Regions from separate parts of the Homo sapiens genome. Here regions 1 and 2 are each linked to region 3. The links are contacts of gene promoters, found by promoter capture Hi-C in human tissues and cell types (Jung and others, 2019). All regions are on one chromosome and are shown on one strand. Each heading gives the region's core, a stretch centred on a gene start or on the middle of the fragment in contact. The rest is flanking DNA. Distances are from core to core; before and after follow the strand shown. Region 1 has its middle 57 kb from the start of LPCAT1. Region 2 holds the start of LOC124900931 (a long non-coding RNA gene). Region 3 holds the start of SLC6A18 (solute carrier family 6 member 18).

Region 1 (3,521 bases), core at 381-2,880, 360 kb after region 3:
TGACGGGTGTTGCTCGTGACAGTTGGGGTCCTCCTCAGCATCAGTCTTGACATGGCTGCAACTGGGGGGGTCCTCGGGATCCTCCCGGAATCTCTTCCTCAGCATTCGCTCATGATAAGGTTTCAGGTGTCTTGATGGTTCAGTCCTGGAGAAACATAAGCATAACCTCTACCCCAAGTTATTATTTTACCTATTTCCCAACTTTCTGTTATCAGGTCTCTCCACCAAACCAGTTGTTCTGCTTCTGTCTTTGCAGCTGGTTTCTGTAGATGCTGTTCAGCTGCTGATAAGATCCGGCCTTTAGGCAGGCTCAAAAAATTTAAAGTTAATAATGCGATTCAATTGCTTATGGGGTGTCCTGTAGTACCTGTTTTCCCCCTTTTGCTTCTGCAACTGCTGTTTCAGGGAGAGATTCATTCTTTCCACTATGGCTTGTCCTTCAGAATTATATGGGATATCAGTAATGTGTTTAATATTCCGTATAGAGAAAAATTTAGCTAGAGCTTGAGAATTAGGTTCCAATCCTCGAGGATTAACTCCTCCTGTAAAAGATGAGGAATGTACCATTTGGCAAGTTGGGCATCGCTGGATAATAGCTTTAGCTTCTTTCCAGGTACTGCTGTATCTGCGTTTGAGACCAGAGGTATTAACACGGGTTAAATTGTGAAAGTGTCCAGCATTAGATATTGCAGTAGCAACTAGGCGATCAGCCATTTGATTCCCTGCAGTCAAAGGTCCTGGAAGAGGTGTATGAGCCCTAATGTGAGTGATGTAAAAAGGGTGCATTCTACTCCTAACTGCTGTTTGCAATTGCATAAATAAAGTCATCAGTTGTTCATCTGTATGAAATCGTAACTCAGCATTTTCAATTAATTGTGTCGAATGAACCACATATGAAGAATCAGAAATCACATTAATAGGCATATTAAAAGCAGTCAATACCTCAATTACAGCTACAAGCTCCGTTTTTTGAGCTGAAGCATAGGGTGTCTGGAAAACTTTACCTTTCGAGCCAGAGTAAGAAGCTTTACCATTACTAGACCCATCTGTAAAAACATTCTCCACACGTTCAATTGGTTTAGTTATTTTAGGGAGAATACAATTAGTTAATTTCAAAAATTGAAACAGTTTCATTTTAGGAAAATGATTATCGAGAATACCCAAAAAGTCAGCTAAATGGGTTTGCCAAGTAAGACTATTTATAAAATCTTGCTGTATTTGTGCCTTCGTGAGAGGGACAATTTTTTCAGGATCATATCCATGTAATTTAACAATCCGAGTTCTCCCATTTCCTATCATAGTAGCAATTTGATCCAAATAAGGAGTTAGAGGCCATGAATTAGTATGTGGAAGAAAAAGCCATTCTACAAGATCTTGCTCTTGAACAATAACACCAGTAGCTGAATGTGGAGTTGGAAAAATTAGCAAATCTAGAGTCTTCTCTGGATCTATTCTATTTATTTGGGCTTTATGGACTTGCTTTTAGATCAGCTGCATCTCGAGTCTTCTCTGGATCTATTCTATTGATTTGGGCTTTATGGCCTTGCTTTTCAATCAGCTGCAGCTCGAGTCTTCTCTGGATCAATTCTATTCATTTGGGCTTTATGGCCTTGCTTTTTGATCAGCTGCAGCTCGAGTTTTCTCTGCATCTATTCTATTGATTTGAGTTTTATGGCCTTGCTTTTCGATCAGCTGCAGCTCGAGTCTTCTCTGGATCTATTCCATTTATTTGGGCTTTATGGCCTTGCTTTTTGATCAGCTGCAGCTCGAGTCTTCTCTGGATCTATTCTATTTATTTGGGCTTTATGGCCTTGTTTTTCGATCAGCTGCAGCTCGAGTCTTCTCTGGATCGATTCTATTGATTTGAGCTTTATGGCCTTGCTTTTCAATGAGCTGCAGCTCGAGTCTTCTCTGGATCGATTCTATTGATTTGGGCTTTATGGCCTTGCTTTTCGATCAGCTGCAGCTCAAGTCTTCTCTGGATCGATTCTATTTATTTGGGCTTTATGGCCTTGCTTTTTGATCAGCTGCAGCTTGAGTCTTCTCTGCATCGATTCTATTGATTTGGGCTTTATGTCCTTGCTTTTTGATGAGATGCAGCTCGAGTCTTCTCTGGATCATTTCTATTTATTTGGGCTTTATGGCCTTGCTTTTCGATCAGCTGCAGCTCGAGTCTTCTCTGGATCGTTTCTATTTATTTGGGCTTTATGGCCTTGCTTTTCGATCAGCTGCAGCTCGAGTCTTCTCTGGATCGATTCTATTTATTTGGGCTTTATGGACTTGCTTTTCGATTAGCTGCAGCTCTGCCTCAGCTTCTCTTGTTAATTACCGAGGGCTGGTGAGACTAGGATCTCCTCTAAGGATAGAAAACAGATTACTCATGGCATAGGTAGGAATGCCTAGAGCAGGTTGTATCCAGTTAATGTCCCCTAGTAATTTTTGAAAGTCATTTAATGTTTTCAATTGATCCCTACGTATGGCTACTTTCTGTGGCACAATGGTAGTGTCATTTACTAAGGTTCCCAAGTAGGAGTAAGGAGTAGTAATCTGAATTTTGTCAGGAGCTATAATTTAACCAGCACCAGAAATTGAATTTTGCAAGTGATCATAACACTGGAGTAATATTTCTTGAGTAGGGGCAGCACAAAGTATATCATTCATATAATGAATAATGTAACACAGTGAAAATGTTTTACGAGGAGGTTCAATTGCTTGCCCTACACAAATCCGGCAAATCGTTGGACTGTTTAACGTGCCTTGTGGCAACACTTTCCAATGAAAACGCTTAGCAGGCTGCAGGTTGTTTACTGCAGGAATTGTAAATGCAAACCGTTCACAGTCTTGCTCAGCTAAGGGGATAGTAAAGAAACAGTCTTTTAAATCTATGACTATTAAAGGCCAATTTTTTGGAATCATAGCAGGAGAAGGCAATCCTGGCTGTAATGTCCCCATAGGTTGTATAACTGAATTAATGGCTCTTAAGTCAGTTAACATTCTCCATTTACCTGATTTTTTCTTAATTACGAAAATTGAAGAATTCCAAGGGGAAAATGTTGGAGCTATGTGTCCCTTTTCTAATTGTTCATTAACTAAGTCCTCTAAAGCCTCCAGTTTCTCTTTACTCAGCGGCCATTGTTCCATCCAAATTGGCTTATATGTTAACCATTTTAAAGGTATAGGTTCTGGAAGCTTAACAATGGCTGCCATCAAGAATAATATCCTAAACCTTGGCAGGAACTGTCTTTCCACTTGAAGTGGTTCTTTCAAACCTTGCAAATTTTTTCCTAGTCCCATACCAGGGACATACCCCATTTCATGCATCATATGCTGACTTTGAGGGCTATATAATTGCTCTGGAATTAGAACTTGTGCTCCCCATTGTTGTAATAAATCTCTTCCCCATAAATTTATAGGTACAGAAGTTATAATTGGTTGAATAGTCCCAGGTTGTCCATTGGACCCTTCACAATGGAAATATAACTACTTTGATATACTTCAGGGGCTTTACCAACTCCAACTAT
Region 2 (3,510 bases), core at 494-2,993, 260 kb before region 3:
CTTCCTCTCCCCTGTTCTTATTCTTCTGGAATTAGGGAGGCTGCTGGGAGGTAGAGGAAGCACCTGCCCCAGTCCTCAGAGGACAGAATCATGCGAATGCTTAGTTACCGAGACCTCCTTCCCACCTGCACGCCGGGCCAGTGGCTCTGCCCGTGACAGCCCCGGGCCTGGCCTGTGCTCAGCACTCATCACTCTTGGGTCTTCCAGGCCATGGTGGCATTGCACGCCCTGCCCTAGGTGTGGGGTTGTTTCATGTTTCAGAAGCCGAAGGACCTGCCCTCCCTCTCATCTCAACACAGCGCCTGGCAGAGAAGCAGTTCCTCTGTCTACTCCAGGGGCTCACACGCCCCTCTGTAGCCCGAAAGTCGGCCTCGGATGTGATAAGCCAGGAAACTCCCTGGTCACCAGTGCATAAGCCCTCAGGGGCTCCAGACGCAGCAGCTGGTTCAGAATTTGTTATCCTGGACTAAAGCCTCCCCTTGCACCACCGTGGGGGTGGAAGGAGGTGGCTTGTCTGAGAAACACCAACATGGACAGGGACGTTCACTGTCACAGAGACAAGGCCTGGCCCCACCTCCCCACAGGACTCCCTCCCCAGTGCCTGGTCTGACGGCAGAACCAGGCAACACCCAGTTCCGCTCCCCTCACCCTTGCCTTCAGAAGCAACAGATAACGGCAAACCCTTGCGTGCAGCGACCACATGAAGACCGCAGCTGCGCGGGCTGTAGTTTCTTACCCTCTGTCAGCACGCACGGCTCTCCAACAGATGGGCGATTTCAAGTTGCTCTGCATCTTAAATGACCCCTTGATAAAACCCCAAACGGCTTTGGATGGGTCTGTTTCCTGTATCTTAAGCACAGAAAAAACAGCCCAGATGTTTCTGATTCATTCAAGCTTTAGTTCAAGAGCACGCTCTGCCGTGGGAGTTTCTTTGAAACTGAGGAGACACACAGGCCCTTCCTCCACTCCCTCCTGCCTGGCTGAGAAAAGGGACTTGCTTGCAGCCACCTGAGAGCAAACAGCACAGGTGCATGGAAGAGGGTCCCGCAGAGCCCTGGGGAGCCCGGCTGGGGACTCTGGGAAGCGGACGGCATCCACACGTGTCCACGCATTCATCGTTGGTACGAGATCCAACTCCCTACCTCCCGGGGGTGCAGAACGCAGGGTCCAGGGAGACGGCAGCCACCTTGGGGAGGATTCGGCCTTGTGAGATAGCAAGGTCCTTCCCTCAGTGGTCGTGGCCTCCCCAGAGTCCTACACCCCTCTGCTCTGCCCCCAAAGCCTGCACCCCCTTTAGAGGCCCCCTGAGCATGGAGACGGGTCCGTGTACCTGAGATCTGCAGGCACACAAATGTATCTGCAATGCTGCCTCGGTCAGCTGTGTCACATGGTTCTGCGGCTGCTCTGAAAATGGCCATTAGGTGGGAGTTTTTCTTTCCTTTTTCCTCTCCCCTTCTCTGTTATTGATTTAGAGACTTCATGCAGAAATTGAATAGGAGGAAGGGGGTGACAGTCCTCTGAGACCTGAAATCTCAGCCACGCCACGAGTGGCCGAGGGCCCAGGTCTGGTGACCAATGGTGAGAAGGAGTCATCTCTCAGAACGAGGCCCAGACAGTGCCGGGAACCAGGGGGTCCCACCAGGCACAGGCAGAACCAGCACGGTGCCTCCCCAGAGTCCGGTGACCTGAGGAGCTGCCAGGACGGCCAGACCCCAGTGAGTCAGTGACCACCAGGACGGCCAGGCACTCTCAGCAGCAGAATTCAGGCTGCATTCATTTTCTCCAAGGAGTGCAGTGTGGGTTCGGACAGTTTGAGCTCAAGCATTAGGGCTCTGTGGAGCAGGATCACAGCTAGTTATTGGGAAATCACCAAAAATGCATCGATACACAATTCTAGGTTCCAAACAAGAAGAGAAAGGACACTTTCGCTTTTAAAAGAAGGAAGATACAAAGCCTGGCAATGAACAGAAGTTTACAGAACAGAAAAATATGGGGTTAAAAACAGCCATTGGAGTCTTCCCAATTCTCATTCAGAGAGGGTGGCATGAAAGCCAACAGAAATCGATGTTGATAGGAAACAAGTGTCATCAGAGAAGGTAAGGGCATTCGCAGAGGGAATAATATTATTTGTGAACTGTCATGGCATGGCCGTTTTTAAACTTATCTTCACAGCATCTCTCCTCATAAGCAAGAGCATGAAGAGCACGGAGAATGTCTGTTTGGTGGCCGACAGCCATCACGGGGTCTCTACGTGCCGGCCAGTCCTCACCTCGTTTGCACGCGTTTATGAACTTAGCCCTCCCTCCGCACCATGAAGGGGCCCTTATCGTCCCGTTTCACAGGTGTGGAGACAGAGGCTCGAGGGGAGAAACAGCCCTGGCGGGCGAAGGCAGAGCTGAGCTTCCGAGAAGGGCCTCCTGTGTTCAGAAATTCCAAAGGAGAAGTAGAAGTTGTCCTGTGGGCAGGAGGGGAGGGAGAAACTCCCAGATGACAGGTGCGAGCCGCGGCCTCGTGCTGACATCTAGAACCGGATGATGGGAGCGAACCGCGGCCTCGTGCTGACGTGTAGAGTGGGAGGGACCCTGGCATCCAGGGGCTTCTTTCTTGGGGAAACACCAAGTATAGAAAGTCAACCATCGTTGTCTCTCACGTAGGATTAACTGTTGCTTTTCAGCTTTTTTACACTTATTTTTTGTTAAGCTATGTCACTACACTTTTTTTTCTGAAATAACGTTAGACTTATGGAAGAGTTGCCAAGATCGTCCAGGAGTCCCCGCCCCCTTCAGGCAGCTTCCTCCCGTGTCAGCACCTTGCATACCCGACCTTGACCACAAGGATTGAGGCTAAGAATTAACACGGGGCAATTAACTACACAGTAGCTTGATTCAGATTCCTCCAGTTTCTGGTAACATCCACCTCCTGCTTTAGAAACAACACTGAGTTCCATGAGCACGCAGGTGTCATCTCGCTGTAGGCTCCAGCCCACGGCAGGCCCCGTGTTTCCTTGCCTCCCATGGCCTTGCCACTTGGAAGAGCACTGGCTGGGTGTTTTGAAGAACAGCCCTCAGTTTGAGTTTGCTATTTTATCATGTCTGGATCGAAGTTATGTGTCTGTGCCAAGAAACTGGCAGAAGCCCCATACCCTGCTCAGCGTCCGCAGTAGTGACTCACGGGCCCTATGCTTTGCCTCATTATGGGTTGTTTTGGCCCTGGTCACCTGGTTCTGGTGGGATCTGCTGGCTTCCCCCACTGTAACGTTACTATTCTTCATTTGTAATTTATTTATTTGTATTTACTTATTTTGAGATGGGGTCTCTCTCTGTCCCTCAGGCTGGAGTGCGGTCGTGCAATTTTAGCTCACGGCAACCTCTACCTCCCGGGCTCAAGCAATCCACTCGCTCAGCCTCCCAAGTAGCTGGGACTACAGGTGTGTGCCACTGCGCCCAGGTAATTTTTGTATTTTTTTAGAGACAGGATTTCACCGTGTTGCCCAAGCTTCTCTCAAACTCC
Region 3 (3,502 bases), core at 601-3,100:
GGCAGTCGGCACTTGGGACATCTGCTTCCACGGACAGGTCACCTCCGCTTTGCACGGAAGAATCTGGATGCTTACATTAAACTGGTGTTCTGAGAGTTCCTACGGACAGGTCACCTCCGCTTTGCATGGAAGAATCTGGATGCTTACATTAAACTGGTGTTCTGAGAGTTCCTACGGACAGGTCACCTCTGCTTTCCATAGAAGAATCTGGACGCTTACATTAAACTGATGTTCTGAGAATTCCTACAGGCAGGACTGAAAGCCTGGTGTGTGCCAGTATGATGTTCCACCCACAGAAACCTGGTCACAATCGTCCCTTCCAGCACCCCATCCAGCAGTGACTGCACACACTGAGTCCCCTACCAGCCCCTTTCACCCTGCTGACTGTCACTGGGCCCTGGGATGCGCAAGACTCCACAGCAGCAGAGGTGGGGGGACATATCACAGCCTCTGCCCCCGGCTGTGATGCCACCGAGGGGCTCGCCTGCTGATGGCTTCAACAGGGTCTCACCTCATCTTTTCCTGCTCTTTGGCCCTGGATCGAGAAAATTTCCATCAGTGCCCCATTAATATGCTGCCCTGTGGCATCTGCCCAGGAGGCCCTGCCAGGCGTGCACAGGTGTGCATTGGTGTACCCTGGCATGCACAGGTGTGCACTGATGTGCCCTGGCATCCATTGGTGTACCCTGGTGTGCCTGCCATAGGACCCTGGGCGGGAGCTCCCATCTCATCTACATCTCCTGATTCATGCGTTGTTTCATAGGTTTCAATGTCTCTGTAAATGTGGTAGAAATGCAGGCTTTATGGGCATAAAGTGTACATTTCTAAATAAATCCCTTCTATTGAGTATGCTCACCCTAGAAGTTACTGTTGTCCAGACGTAGAGGGATGAGTGAGCCAGTGACCTCAGACGGGATGGTGGGGACGGCAGGTCCAGCTCCTGCCTCCTCCTGGGGGGTCTGGCTTTGGGGGCTTGCTCCGAAGAGGCCATGGCCCAGGCCTGTGGCCTCACAATGGGGACCAACCAGCTCTTCTCATCTTCTTCCCTCACACTTCCTCTCACTCAAATAAGAACCTTCCAAAAATGTGTCCACCTGGGCCCCTGCCCTGGGACTCATGGATTTGGAGTTGTGGCCACACGGTTGAGGGGTGCAGTGTCCAGTGGAATGGGGCAATTGCGGGCCTGGGGGCCCTTGGCCTGTCCGTGGCGGGAGCATCTGCAAGGAGGAGCCCCAGAGTCCAGGGAGCACTGTGGGGAGCTCCTTAGAGCTGAACTCACCCGGCGTCAACTCATCAACCCTCCACCCATGGACAGGGGTGCCCCCAGCACAGGAGAGGACTCAGCCCTCTGCCCCCACGCACGGTGGGTGCCTGTCACCCTGTCCTGCCCAGCGGCCCGAGGGCAGCAGTGGGTGTGAGGGCAGCCCCCGGCCTCCCAAGAGCAGCTGAGAGGATCCCTGCGGGAATCCGGGCTTCGGGTGCATGCGATCTGATCTGAGTTGTTTCTGACAGTGACAGAGTGACAATCTATAAGTATCTCAAGATCAAATGGTTAAATAAAACATAAGAAATTTAAAACGATTAAAATATGCCTCAGTCTTGGGAATCCTGGTGTCTGCAACAAAAAAACTTGAGGCTGTCCTTGCAAACGGTCCTCATGGTGCTGGGGGTGGTGCCAGGCCCGGCGTTTGCCTGGAACACAGAGCATGCGAGAAGGAGCAGAGGACGTGGGTGCCAGGGAAGGACCCTGGCGTCAGAGCCAGGGCCTGGACCTGAGTTACCCATTAACGGCACTCCACTGGTTTTCCTTTAAAGAAATGAATAAATACAACTGCAGTGGGGCTGCTTGTGGTTTCCAAACGTCGGCAGAGGCTGGAGACGGCTCTCTAGTGCTGGGTGTGGAGTGAGGCACCACCCTTGCCCTGAAGCCTGGGGCACTCAGTCACCATGGCTCATGCCCCAGAACCGGACCCGGCCGCCTGCGACCTCGGGGATGAGAGGCCCAAGTGGGACAACAAGGCCCAGTACCTCCTGAGCTGCACTGGGTTTGCCGTGGGACTGGGGAACATTTGGCGGTTCCCATACCTGTGCCAGACCTATGGAGGAGGTAAGCACCCACCTGCGTCCTGGGGCAGACCCCTAAGCAGGGGAGGCCGTCTCCACCCTGACCTGCCAGGCGCCTGCCACGCATCCCCAGTGCTTGGGCAGAGTCACTCCTCCTGGAAACCAGGGTGCACCATTGCCCACGGCAGAGTCAGTCCCCTCAGGGCCCACCTGCAGTCTTCTGGGACCTCAGGGCAGCTTCACCACTGCCCACAGCACGGAGGATCCAGTCCCCTCGGGGTCCACTATGGTCTTCCGGGACCTCAGGGCAGCTTCCTGCCAGGCGTCAGGTTGAATGGGCCGCCCTGCCCGACACACACACCCTACAAACAGTGAGCGCTCTTCCATCTGAATGTCGTCAGTTCTTTAAAGAACACACAATCCGCTCTGGGTTTCCTCACCACAGCCTTGGTGTGTCCAGACATGTGCTCAGGTGCCCTTCTCCGAGGTTCTTTGCAGGAATTTGGGGGCCCACCCCTCGCCTCCCTGGCTTTGGTTCTCTGGGAGAGCCCTGTGGGGGGTGCCAGGATGTTCAGAACTGTCTGGGTGACTTTAGTGACCTTGGACTCACCACCCCCAGAAGTGCATTGGTGACTGAAATAGGCTCCCACGCACCTCGAGCCTCCCCTCACCCTGTGCCTGCTTCTCTTCATGCAGGGGTCACACTCTGCTCTCCATGTGGCGACACAGGATGTAGGGACAGGCATGAATCACTGCTCTCAGGGAGCCGACGTACAACATCACGCATGGACACCCAGGTCTTCCCCAGGCAACACGGGCAGGGGCTTCCCAGGCCGCAGGGTCCTCCTCAGGCCAGGCCGGGCTGCTTGGTCAGCCTGTTCCCCGGGCCCTCAGCTCCTTCCCTGAGAGCCCCGCACAACTATCCCTTGTTATAAGGTTACTCCTTTAAAGTGTTTTTCCTCCTGCTTAAGAAAAGATTCTCAACAGGCAGAAAATGCAGGAAATGCGCACAAATGGAAAAAACAAAAAGAAACACCCGTCACTGCCACCCTCGGGGCACTGGGGTCTCTTTGGGGCTTTGGGGCTGGAGAGGGTGCATTGGGCCTTGGATCTTCTCATCATGAGAGTCCCTTTGAAGGCATTTCTGAAAGCACCAAAGCCCAAGGGCAGAGGCGTCCCTGGCTCCCGGGGCCCTCGCTGCCTGTGCTGCGGCTCGATCTGCTAAGAGTCACCAGAGCATGCAAGGTTGTGGGGGCAGCAGGCTTCACGCAGAGCTGGAAATGCCGGCCAACGCTTTACCCACCAACGCCTTGTTCGCCAATGCCTTGCCCACCGATGCCTTTCCTGCTGATGCCTTGCCCAACGCCTTGCCCACCGACGCCTTGCCCACCGATGCCTTGCCCACCGATGCCTTGCCCGCCGACGCGCCCAACGCCTT

Evidence for each region. The method cuts DNA at HindIII sites, captures the fragments that hold promoters and counts their contacts. A contact is called where the count stands out against the background at its distance.
Region 1: a fragment that was not itself captured here is called in contact with the fragment with the promoter of SLC6A18 in region 3 in 4 of the 25 tissues and cell types used here (H1 embryonic stem cells, dorsolateral prefrontal cortex, liver and 1 more).
Region 2: a fragment that was not itself captured here is called in contact with the fragment with the promoter of SLC6A18 in region 3 in 4 of the 25 tissues and cell types used here (IMR-90 fibroblasts, heart left ventricle, neural progenitor cells and 1 more).

The regions. Positions count from the first base shown.
Region 1 is chr5:1,579,340-1,582,860 of GRCh38, forward strand. It overlaps the pseudogene SDHAP3. Among named protein-coding and RNA genes, the nearest start is that of LPCAT1, 57 kb to the left of the region's middle. The HindIII fragment of the contact is 4,730 bases long and covers 1-3,521 here.
Region 2 is chr5:963,363-966,872 of GRCh38, forward strand. It overlaps LOC124900931 (a long non-coding RNA gene), which reads right to left and starts at 799. Exons shown (of 2, transcript XR_007058676.1): 1 at 737-799. RefSeq lists enhancers at 228-387, 1,974-2,475. The HindIII fragment of the contact is 5,091 bases long and covers 1-3,510 here.
Region 3 is chr5:1,223,531-1,227,032 of GRCh38, forward strand. It overlaps SLC6A18 (solute carrier family 6 member 18), which reads left to right and starts at 1,851. Exons shown (of 12, transcript NM_182632.3): 1 at 1,851-2,107. The coding sequence starts at 1,948. SLC6A19 (solute carrier family 6 member 19) reads left to right here. Exons shown (of 12, transcript NM_001003841.3): 12 at 1-1,581. RefSeq lists an enhancer at 2,245-2,787. The HindIII fragment of the contact is 11,488 bases long and covers 1-3,502 here.